4 separate regions of the Homo sapiens genome follow, and regions 1, 2 and 4 are each linked to region 3. Evidence: promoter capture Hi-C in 16 types of primary human blood cells and fetal thymus (Javierre and others, 2016). All regions are on one chromosome and are shown on one strand. The core of a region is centred on a gene start or on the middle of the fragment in contact, and the rest is flanking DNA. Distances in the headings are between cores, read along the strand shown.

Region 1 (2,700 bases), core at 50-2,549, 3.8 Mb after region 3:
GATTTAATAAAGCTCTCAAAAGGTCCCTTGAGATAGGCCTGTGACTAAACTATTCCAAATTAGCTTCTTTACAAAGAATCTTGGCCGGGAGCGGTGGCTCACACCTGTAATCCCACCACTTTGGGAGGCCGAGGGGGTGGATCACCTGAGGTCAGGAGTTCGAGACTAGCCTGGCCAAGATGGTGAAACTCCGTCTCTACTAAAAATACAAAAATTAGCCAGGCATGGTGGTGTGTGCCTATAATCCCAGCTACTCAGGAGGCTGAGGCAGGAGAATCCCTTGAACCCAGGAGGCGGAAGTTGCAGTAAGCCGAGATTGTGCCATTTCACTCCAGCCTGGGTGACAAGAGTGAAACTCCATCTCAAAAAAAAAAAAAAGAAATAATCTTTACATCTGCCATGGGACCTCATTCCTGTAGGTCACAAGCATTAATATTTTTAAATTATTAATGCCAGAGAATCAACTGAAACAAGCTATGCTATCCATGAGGAAATTCTAATTGAAAGCACTTTGCAAACTAGAGCTGTGCATTTCCTGGGTACTTTATTATGTGTCTGGCAACACACACACACACAGGACTGCAACACAGGAAAACAGACAACATGGTTCAGTGCTGCCGTCATTATAAGAAATATATACTGCATCTGCTAAATCACAAAATACGGATAGTTTCAAGTATATAACAAGGTTTTGTTGTTTTGGGTTTCTGTTGGTTTTTGTTTTCTTGCAGGCAATAGTTCTCTTATTTTTGCATTTCTATTAGTGGTAAATATAAGTTATAGATTCATTCTCACTTAAGAACATAAAGTTCCTTTTGGCTGCCATGCAACTTTGGTTCTTTCTCCTGCTTCCTCAAAGGCAGTCCTAGCTATCACTTCAGACCCTTTTCTATTTCTACATCCATTTCTATGGACCCTGTTGCTTTGTGTTTAGACCCACTTTATATGGGCACATTCTCACACTATGAAAGTAATTCTGCAACATGCTTTTTTTCCTACTTTGGTTCATTTTTGAGACATAGCTATATTGATTCATAGATCAAATTGAGTTTCTATTTCTGAATACAGACATTGCTTGAGAATAAAGACATTATTTTAATGTTTTAAATTAGCTCTGGTTTAGAGGGGAAAACAGGAATGCAATTTTTCATCATTTTTGAGCATTCAAATGTTGCAGTGTTTTTTATCTTTTCATTTTCTGAAAGCTTACTTTTGAATGGCCTTCCACTGTTTTAAAAATAGTTTTTCCTTCTGGCCTATAGAGAACATGAAATAAAATAATAAGATAAAGTTTTTTCCATGACCAACTTATGTAGGACAAGTGTGTAACCTATCATCTTTCATTATATTAAATTGGCCCCTCCTCTGGTCTAACAACCCTGATTGTGATCCATAAGCTTCCAAATTAAATGTTAAATTAAAAATGGTTTTTATAAACAATTCCAATGTCAGCTTTATTACCAAGTTCTATTGTTAGAAGTCTTTTAATGGTGAAATACTCCTTGTTTCCAGAAGGTGGCATGCATATAGGTGATTAAAACAATGTTATCTCAAAGAATGGAGCTTTAACCTATGTTGAAAAATAGCTTCCTGAATAAGTTGTTTATAGCGCTAGTTCATTCTCTGAGCCATTTTGGGGAGGTGGTGGAATCTTACACAGTATTTGCAAACTACGTCTTAACCACTGTTATTATTTTGGCATACATCTTTTCAGACTCCTATTCATAAAAGTATGGGAAGTATTTTCAACAAAAGAATGTCATAATCTATATTTGCTTTCTTCACTTAATATAGGATTACAGGCTGGGCACGGTCGCCCATGCCTGTAATCCCAGCACTTTGGGAGGCCTAGGCGGGTGGATCACTTGAGGTCAAGAATTTGAGACTGCTGTGGCCAACATGGGAAAACTTTGTTTCTACTAAAAATACAAAAAAATTAGCCAGGTGTGGTGGCACCACCTGTAATCCCAGCTACTCGGAAGGCTGTGAGGCAAAAGAATCCTTTGAACCTGGGAGGTGGAGGTTGCAGTGAGCTGAGATTGCACCATTGCACTCCAGCCTGGGTGACAGAGCAAGACTCCATATCTCTCTCTCTCTCTCTCTCTCTCTCTCTCTCTCTCTCTCTCTCTCTCTCTATATATATATATATATATATATATATATATATATATATAATATATAAAATACATATGTGGCATTACAATATTTCCATTTGACTACATTTTTGTCAAGAATAAGTTTATCCACAATTGTACTCTTTGTTTTTTTGTTGTTTTTTTTTTCAGAGACAGGGTCTTGTGCTGTTTCCCAGGTTGGAGTGCAGTGGCAGGATCATAGCTCACTGCAGCCTCAACCTCCTAGGCTCAAGCAATCCTCCCACCTCAGCCTCCCAAATAGCTAGGACTACAGGTATGTTTCACCACACGCAGCTAACTTTTTTTTTTTTTTTAGTAGAGACGGGGTCTTGCTATGTTGTGAAGGCTGGTCTCAAACTCCTGGCCTCAAGCACTCTTCCCACTTCAGCCTCCCAAAGCACTGGAATTATAAGAGTGAGCCACCACTCCTGGCCTAGTGTTAGAACTCTTAAAAACAGAATTGAACACAGTGATGATTCATTTTAAGAAAGGAAAAAAAAAACTAATACTAGGATCATGAAACTAGAGTAAAAATACCTAATGCTAGATGACGAGTTAGTGGGTG
Region 2 (2,700 bases), core at 169-2,668, 3.4 Mb after region 3:
TTTTTTACTTTAGATATATTCCATGATAATACAAAACACCGACAAAAATTTCTTAAAACAACGTATGGAGTAATATTTTTAGTTTTTGATTATTTTTATTCAAAGGTATCATCATTTAAAGAGTGCAATTCACAGAAACAATAATTAGGCCAATTAATCTCAGAGTTAGATTATTTTAGGTTGCCCAATAATCCTATTTAATCCCAAGTATAAATAAACCAATGAAACCTTAACATGACATATTCATCTAATCAAAGAACAATATCCAGTTGGAACTGTGAAGTACTACTACACAGTCACACTGAAATGTCACCAATTCAAAAATAAGTACCTGATAAAATGAGACTTTTGGCAATCAACTGTAATGTTCTAAAGGATCCACCAAAAACTCATTCTTGTCTCACACACACACCCAATGCCTGTTCATTAAATGACACCAAGAACAGTTTAACTTCAAACTCTAACGCCAATGAAACAAATTCAGACATAAATTAAAAGATGACCAAAAGACTACATGAGTCTTGACATTTTATCCAAGTATTTATGAATGTTAAATCTAAAGTAGTTAACTCGTTTTAACATCACATGCAGTTTACGACCTTCATCAAAATGAAAAGGAATTCTTTCAACATTCTTTTCATCATCACAGAGCTTTAAACACAAACTTCCACAGTCACTGCTCATTTCACCATTTTACAAAATCGTCCCCCATCACCACCCCACATAAGCTAGTCAAAGAAAAAAAAAACTGACAGCTCAGTCTCCCACAAAATGCACTTACTTTATCAAATACCGACATTTATTTTCAAGTGCAAGAAAGTAACAGACATTTGCAGCTCAAGACAGGAAAAGCACAGCCAGCCTTACTACCCCCACTAAATTTCTCAGACAAGAGAAAAGTAACTCGGGACAGGCAAATTAAAACCATTCTACACATGGCAAAAATATAAAACATCTATGTCCTACAATCCATAGCGATAGTACTGCTTCCTCTCTTCCCCAGCCAATACCAATAAGCCAATAGACACAAGTGTCAAATAAATCCAGTGTCCGTTTGAAATAAAATGAAAACCTGGAAAAATTCCCTCCCATAAATCATTTAGCGAACACAAGGCTTTTCACCCAACACTTAATACACTCAACCCAAAAACACACACAACCCACCCGCAAATACAAAAAAAGCCGTAATCAACAAGTTGGAAAAAGGGCAGAAAGTAAGGCTCACTACCCTCTCACTTAAAAAAAAAAAAAAAAAGTCCTTTAACAAAAGGTAACACAGATCTTCAAGTACCTGGTGGAGGTGCCTTTCCTCACATCGCAGATGCTGCATTTAAAGGCTTCAGCACTGTTTCTGAAGGTGCAGACGCTACAATCCCAAAACCCTTCGTCTGCGGCAGGTTTCGCTTGTCTTTTTGGCCTTCCGAGGAGTGGAGAGTGGGGGAAAAGGGAGGGAAGAGGCAGGGAGCAGGAAAACGGGGGAGAGACAGCAAAACACAGACGCGGGTGAGCCGTCGTAATTTCGCAGGAATCCAGTGCTGGAAACTTCGCTCGGGAGACCACCCACCCACCCTTTCCGGGGACTGGAAGAGAGAGCGAGGAAGGGAACCGGGCGCCCCCACTGGCACCCTGCAAGCCCCGGGCCCGGGCCGGATAGCCTCGCACACCAGGCGGTGGCGGCGGCGCCCCGGGAAGGGCCGCGGCGGGCGCAGGAAGCGGGCGGACTTGTGGACTTGAGCGTGGGGCTGGGGGGGCCGGGAGGGGAGCCGCGGGCCGGATCTGGAGGGGGCGCGCAGGGGCAGCCCGAGGCCGGCGACGGGGAGTGGGCCGGCTCCTTCCCTCTCCACTCCCAAGCTCGCGCCCTCCCTCCCTCCCCACCTGGTTAAATCCATCACAGTCTCCGGACGAGACTAGTCCCCGCCAGCGCCGCCTCCGCCGAGTGACTGACGAGGGGCGGGGCCTGGCGCCGCGCGTCACGCGCCGTGCGGCCAATGGGAGGGCGGCGGCCGGCGCCGCGAGGGCGGAGGCGGGGCGCGGGGGAAGGCGGGGCGTGGCGGACGTGGGCCGGGCGGTCGGTGTGCGTGCCCGGGAGTGTGTGCGCGCTGGGGGCGCGCGTGCCTGTCGGTGGCCCCGCGGCCCGGCGCGGCGGAGCGTGCAAGCCCGGCGGGGCGCACGTGGCCGCGCCCGGGAGCTGGCAACTGGCTTCGGGCCCCGCACGGCGCCCCGTGAGGCTGTTGCCGGGACCCCGGCCCCGAAGCCGCCCCGGGGAAGTAGTTCCACGCAGTTTGCGCGCGCCGCGGGAGCTTGCAACAGCCTCACCGCTCGCAGCGCCTCGAGGCTTGCAGTGCCCAGGGGCCGACAAGGTCCACCTTTGGACCGCGTTCCCCCGCGCCCCTCTGTTCCTCTGCCATGCGGAGCTTTGTATTTGCCTCTTCTGAAGTCCCTGCGTCCGGCCGAGACGCTGGCCCGAAGCCCCACTCCCTGTCAGGCCCCTGTCGCGGGAGGGAACAGTAGAGAAAGGGCGTGGCATAACTAAATGCCCCCAGGCCAGACTCTGAGCTTCTGCTGGCGGACTCCTCCTGGGATCCTCCTCTCCCCTAGAGTCTAAATAGGGCGTTTCCTTAGGGAAGTTGCTATTCAAATTCTGGCGACCACATGCCCGCATTAAAACCTCGTGCCTCAGCTCCTTCATCTCCAAAATGG
Region 3 (2,892 bases), core at 393-2,892:
ACCCAGATACATCCACAACAATAAAGTTGGAGCAAGGTAGAGAAAAGTTAGTAGATGTTTATAATGAAAGCATAGAAAACAAATCAGATTAAAGCACTATTAATAGCAAACAAGAATCGTGGGCTATCCTATTGCTAATAACAATAATAGTAACATATAACTGTGAACCTTTATTATACACTAAGCATTTCCTATACATTCCTTCACTTAGCCTCGTCTATATGGCAGATGTTCCATTATCCCCACTTTACACATGAAGACACCGAGGCTGGGAGAGATTAAGTAGTTTCTCCAAAGTCACCTGCCAGAGAGGAAGGAGCTGCGACTCTAATTTTGCTTTCTCTGACTTCACACCATCCCATTTTTCCAGAATCAAGAAAACATGAGCACTCAGGAATATTTTCACATTTTAAACTTTATTCAAAAAGCAGCACATAAGATATATCTTAGCACTAATTCCATGCAATCACCAAATTTTCCTAAACAACAGTAGTAGTAGTAATTTCTTAGAGTCGCTGTAAGCTCCTTAACTGTCTTCTGAATTAATAAGGAAAATTAAATTATGTTTTCTAGACTTTGCATTAGTATATTTCATTACTTTCCAAGTTTTCAAAAATTGGTGATCTGAGTAGAGTGAATTCACCTTGTCTAAGCCACTTAGGGGCTTAGAGACTCTGTTATCTTAGAAATCTTCACCTTAGAATTCTACCTATTACATTATACAATTAAACAAACTACTTTTTTTCTCATGCATTGTACCAATCAGCCCCTTAACTGAAAAAAGATGACCCTTGGAAGCTTAGAAGAGAATTGACAACGAATACTTCTTTTGCCAGGTCTTTGGGCTGGGATACAAAACATCACGTTATCTATGAATATATTGTGGTCCCTCAGTGAAAGCTGTCACCAAATATTGCAATAAAACTAAGAAAACTTTTGAAGTGGAATGCATATTTCTGCCCAGAAAATGCTGGATGCAGAACAACTAGTTCACTGCAGACAACTGTTTGCTTTAAAATGTAAGCAACATGCCCAGCTCAGGACTGAAGTGGCCAGAGTGCCTACTTTATCAGAATGGCATAGCAGTCCAACAATTTAGCCTAGAGAGAACAGAGGTGGAGAACAAAGAAGAGAAGTGAAAAAAACAGACCAGCCCTTCTGTTCTACATGACCTTCTTTCCCGTTTTGCCAATCTGATTTCACACATAGTGACTCATGGTGAAACAGAGAAAACATGGGAATTGCATTCAGATGTGTAGAGGTTAGTAAGACTTAGTTTTCAAAAGCAGCTCATTCTCCATTAACACTGTAGTCGCCTTCCATTTCATTTCACTTAGATTGGCATCTGCACAGCTGCCAAAATTTTTCTCTAAGTCAGAGAACACACTCCTAGGTAAACCTTCAAAAAAGGTATTTCGAAGGAGGCAGCTTCTCTGCTGCTAGAGAAGGCATTGCCACCTCCCTTCAGACAGGGGATTTCCGCTAGTTGCTTTCTGTCATTTCGTCTCTATTCTGCACTCAGTCCCTTGTTCTGTCTGGAGGTTCCTGTTTTCCTGTACCCAACCAAGAGCCAATGAAGAAGTAAAGAGGAGCAAACACGCCCGCCCACTCCCAATTTCCTTTGCTCTGCTGTCTGCCAACCGCAAAGCCGACCGAGACGGAGCCGCTGTCAACTCTCCAACTCAGCTCAGCTGATCGGTTGCCGCCGCCGCCGCCGCCAGATTCTGGAGGCGAAGAACGCAAAGCTGAGAACATGGACGTTAATATCGCCCCACTCCGCGCCTGGGACGATTTCTTCCCGGGTTCCGATCGCTTTGCCCGGCCGGACTTCAGGGACATTTCCAAATGGAACAACCGCGTAGTGAGCAACCTGCTCTATTACCAGACCAACTACCTGGTGGTGGCTGCCATGATGATTTCCATTGTGGGGTAAGTGGGGTCCCCCTACCCGGGACACCGATCCGGGGCGAGCACGGAGGGGCCTCGGGGTGCAAGATCCCGGGATGTAGAGACGCTCTCTGACCACGCTCAGCGCCTGCCCTGGCAATTCTGCAAGCGGCCAAGCCAGTGGAAACTTGTTTGCAGGGCGAGGCCGCAGTAACCTGGGGCCCCATTTTCTGCACCAAGGGCTGAGACTTGAGGGGGGCCCTAGGGGAAAGAGGACGGGGAAAATTTGCCAGCCGCAGGGAAGAAAAATGAGAGTTCCCCCACCCCCCTGCCCCCGCCCGCGTGCCAGGATCGGGCTCTTGCTGGAAAGATATTTGTAGCGCCCTCGTCTTTTAAAAATAAGAAGAAAAAGGAAAGTGGTGTAACCCTACCCTGGAGCTGGCTGGGGCGGCAGGGTGTGGACCCGGGCTAGTGTAAAAAGGGCAACCAAGTGGCGACGCACTTTGCTGCTTTCTCTGCCTAATGCCTGCCACACTGTACAGTAAAGCTGAGCTTGGGATCAAAAGGGGGGGTGTCTCCTGGTGGCGCATCTCCCATTGTGGGGTAAAGGCTGCCATGACTGTGGGAAGATGGCCTTCTGGCATTTTCTTCCAGCAGTGGCCAGGCGTGGTCACTTTCTCTGTCTTCGCTTCCTAGCCTGAGGTTTCAATGTATCAGAAGGCCTTTTCAATACCTGATACTTAACAAAGTATCCTGTGTTGAGACTGCATGTACACCTGCTTTCCTAGAAACCACCTTTCCTTCTAGTTCACCCTTTAAGAAATGCTTCTCTCGCTTATGCAGGATGGGTGGTGATATTCTCAATCTTGCTGATTATCTCCTACACATCTTTAAAGAAAAAGCCACCCTCAGACTTTATAAAGGACTCACTTGCACTTAAATGTCTGACATTTCTATTTCAGGGCAGACGTAGAGGGAAGAAGCAGCAAGCTGGCTTGGGAGAAA
Region 4 (2,874 bases), core at 292-2,791, 4.0 Mb after region 3:
TGGTGGCAGGTGCCTGTAATCCCAGCTACTTAGGAGGCTGAGGCAGGAGAATTGCTTGAACCAGGGAGGCGGAGGTTGTAGTGAGCCGAGATCGCCATTGCACTCCAGCCTGGGCGACAAGAGTGAAACTCTGTCTCCAAAAGAAAAAAGAAAATGTCAGTAGTGCCAAAATTGAAGAAGCCCTGGGATGAGGGATTGCAAAGGACCTGTTAACACATAAAACAAGTGTCTTGTGGTCAAAATCAGGTAAAAATATTCCATTTCACTAGCAATGAAGGAAATGTAAATTAAACTGTTTCTCTACTAGCATATTGACAGAATTTTTGAAAGGTTATCATACTCAAATGTAACATGTTGCTTTATATTACTGATGACACTACAAAGTATGGTACATGGTGTCTGGGGAGTTTCTGAAGGTTGAAACAAAAGTCTTGACGTATGTACTTCATACTTCGGACTCAATAATTTCACTTACAGAAATCTATCCTCAGGTGATAAATAGATGCCTACAGGGTTTATTATTAGGCTGTTAATCACATAACTACATAATTATTTTTAATTGTAATGAAGTAGATGTGACCTAATTTTTTTTTTTTTTTTTTTGGAGACAGTCTTGCTCTGTCACTCAGGCTGGAGTGCAGTGCAGTGGCATAACCTTGGCGCACTGCAACCTCTGCCTCCTGGGTTCAAGCGATTCTTCTGTCTCAGCCTGTCTGTAATTCCAGTAGCTGGAATTATAGGCGCTCACCACCATGCCTGGCTAATTTTTGTATTTTTAGTAGAGGTGGGATTTTACCATGTTGGCCGGGCTGGTCTTGAACTGCTGATCTCAGGTGATCTGCCTGCCTCAGCCCCCGAAAGTGCTTGCATTACAGGCGTGAGCCATCGCACCCAGCCCTAAATATTTTTTTAAACTGTGATTAATAAATTATGGCACAAATACGTGGTGCAGTTAAAAATCTTGCCCTCAAAGACTGTTTGTCCCATGCAAATACCCGTAGTGAGTAAGGAGGAGGGAAAAAGGAATATTAGGATGTCAAATTTGAAAAATATATTAAAATGTTACTTTAGTGATGATGGTTGACTGCAGATTATGGATACATACTTCTATGTCTTTATTATTTCTTATAATGGCTGTACTATTAATGTAATCAGAAAAAACACATTATTTAGTTTTTAAATCCTATTAACATTTTGGAGTAGTCTCAATATTTTTCAGTTTACTGACTAATCTGTCCTTTACCATATATCAGATTTTCATATATGTGTGGGTGTGCTTCTCCGCTCTCTTCTGTTCCACTGATCTATTTTAATGTTCAGTTAGTCGACAAGATGTAATATGATGTGGAATGATAATGTAAAAGAATCTCTTGTTTCGTGCCCCATTTATAGAGAGAGTAATTTGTGTTTTAAAATTAGTCCTTTTAAAAATGTCATAATTTTATGTAAGCAACTCAGTGTTTTCTTACTTTTGCAGATCTTTCACTTATTTAATTCAGTATTCAGATTAAATATACTTGTTTTGTTTGCCTCAGTCATATAATTAAGACTGAATTATTTGACATTTTAAGTCATCTGATTGAAATATCTGCCTTTTAAACATTAAGTGTATTTTAAGCCTGTCACCTTTAATGAATGATCATCTCCATTAGATTTTATTTATTCATTCTTCTCAGATTCCCGTTTGATGTTTATAAATGGTGCAGTATTTGCTATCCTTTGGAGTAGCTAATAGTAGTAGGACTCTCCTGAGCTTTGTTGTGCTCTTAGTGTTCCTCACACTTTGTGTGCAATGCAGATAGGCTGAGTAGAGAGTAATCTTAGTAGAACTGGAAATGTTAGGAACCAGTACGTTAAGGTGGTTGGCCGCTGGCCACTAAATTGTTGTAGCACCACTTGGGAAAAGAAAAGATGGATTTTCTGTCCTTAAGCCTCTGGAAAATACCTTTAGCCTTTAGAGAATTGTGAGAGAAACATGTTTGAATATGAACTTGTGAGTTCCTATGGAGAAAAAAGGTCAATGTAAAATCTAGCACCAGGATATATTTATTAGAGATATGAATTGTACTTTCCTACAGGAGAAACTGCAAAAATGGGAAAATGGAAGGGGAGAAGAAAAAGGAAGTGAAGGGAGGTGAAGCTACTTAGTTAATGGTGATTAATTTCAGTACATTATTGAGTTAATTTCAGTAAAGTAGATTTAAATTTTGAGTATGTATTTTATTGGAGGGGATTTTATGTGGAGAAATTTGTTCTGAAGTTGAAAATGTGTTTATGTCTTATGAGCATCTTTTTAGAATAATTTGATTTTCATATTGAAAGCCAAGGGTTTTTTTGTTCTCATTTCTACTCATCCAGTGAGTGTACATTCCTAAGAAATTGTTTTTGTTGCCAAGTTTTTAGTTGATTTGCGCATGGCCTGTTTTTTGTGCCTGAATATAATTTCTTTTTTTTTTTTTTTTTTTTTGAGATGGAGTCTCGCTGTGTCACCCAGGCTGGAGTGCGGTGCTGCAATCTTGGCTCACTGCAACCTCCGCCTCCTGGGTTCAAACAATTCTCCTGTCTCAGCCTCCCGAGTAGCTGGGAATACAGGTTTGTGCCACCACACCCAGCTAATTTTTGTATTTTTAGTAGAGACAGGATTTCACCATGTTGGCCAGGATGGTCTTGGTCTCTTGACCTTGTGATAAGCCCGCCTCGGCCTCCCAAAGTGCTGGGATTACATCCGTGAGCCACCGCGCCTGGCCCCTGAATTATATAACTTTTAGGGAAGCATTTTCTGTTTTTGTTTTTATCAAATAGTTGTCCTCCATCAAAAAGCTGTATCTTTCACATTTTATGAATGCCCTCCCCATATATATATGTGGAATAGTA

The links. Contacts are between HindIII fragments. The CHiCAGO score rates a contact against its expected background, and 5 or more counts as called.
Region 1: a fragment that was not itself captured here is called in contact with the fragment with the promoter of ARL6IP5 in region 3 in 1 of 17 cell types (total CD8 T cells); the score reaches 7.9 in total CD8 T cells.
Region 2: the fragment with the promoter of RYBP here is called in contact with the fragment with the promoter of ARL6IP5 in region 3 in 1 of 17 cell types (neutrophils); the score reaches 5.6 in neutrophils.
Region 4: a contact is called between a fragment that was not itself captured here and the fragment with the promoter of ARL6IP5 in region 3, in 1 of 17 cell types (activated CD4 T cells). The highest score is 5.4, in activated CD4 T cells.

Annotation. Positions count from the first base shown.
Region 1 is chr3:72,849,973-72,852,672 of GRCh38, forward strand. No RefSeq gene overlaps it. Among named protein-coding and RNA genes, the nearest start is that of SHQ1, 2.9 kb to the left of the region's middle. The HindIII fragment of the contact is 192 bases long and covers 1,204-1,395 here.
Region 2 is chr3:72,445,205-72,447,904 of GRCh38, forward strand. It overlaps RYBP (RING1 and YY1 binding protein), which reads right to left and starts at 1,419. Exons shown (of 4, transcript NM_012234.7): 1 at 1,292-1,419. The coding sequence starts at 1,419. RefSeq lists silencers at 1,736-1,795, 1,856-2,265. The HindIII fragment of the contact is 10,688 bases long and covers 1-2,700 here.
Region 3 is chr3:69,083,295-69,086,186 of GRCh38, forward strand. ARL6IP5 (ARF like GTPase 6 interacting protein 5) reads left to right here and starts at 1,643. Exons shown (of 3, transcript NM_006407.4): 1 at 1,643-1,929. The coding sequence starts at 1,754. RefSeq lists an enhancer at 1,414-1,723. The HindIII fragment of the contact is 15,418 bases long and covers 797-2,892 here.
Region 4 is chr3:73,039,916-73,042,789 of GRCh38, forward strand. The region is part of intron 2 of PPP4R2 (protein phosphatase 4 regulatory subunit 2); the gene reads left to right. Among named protein-coding and RNA genes, the nearest start is that of EBLN2, 20 kb to the right of the region's middle. The HindIII fragment of the contact is 5,162 bases long and covers 1-2,874 here.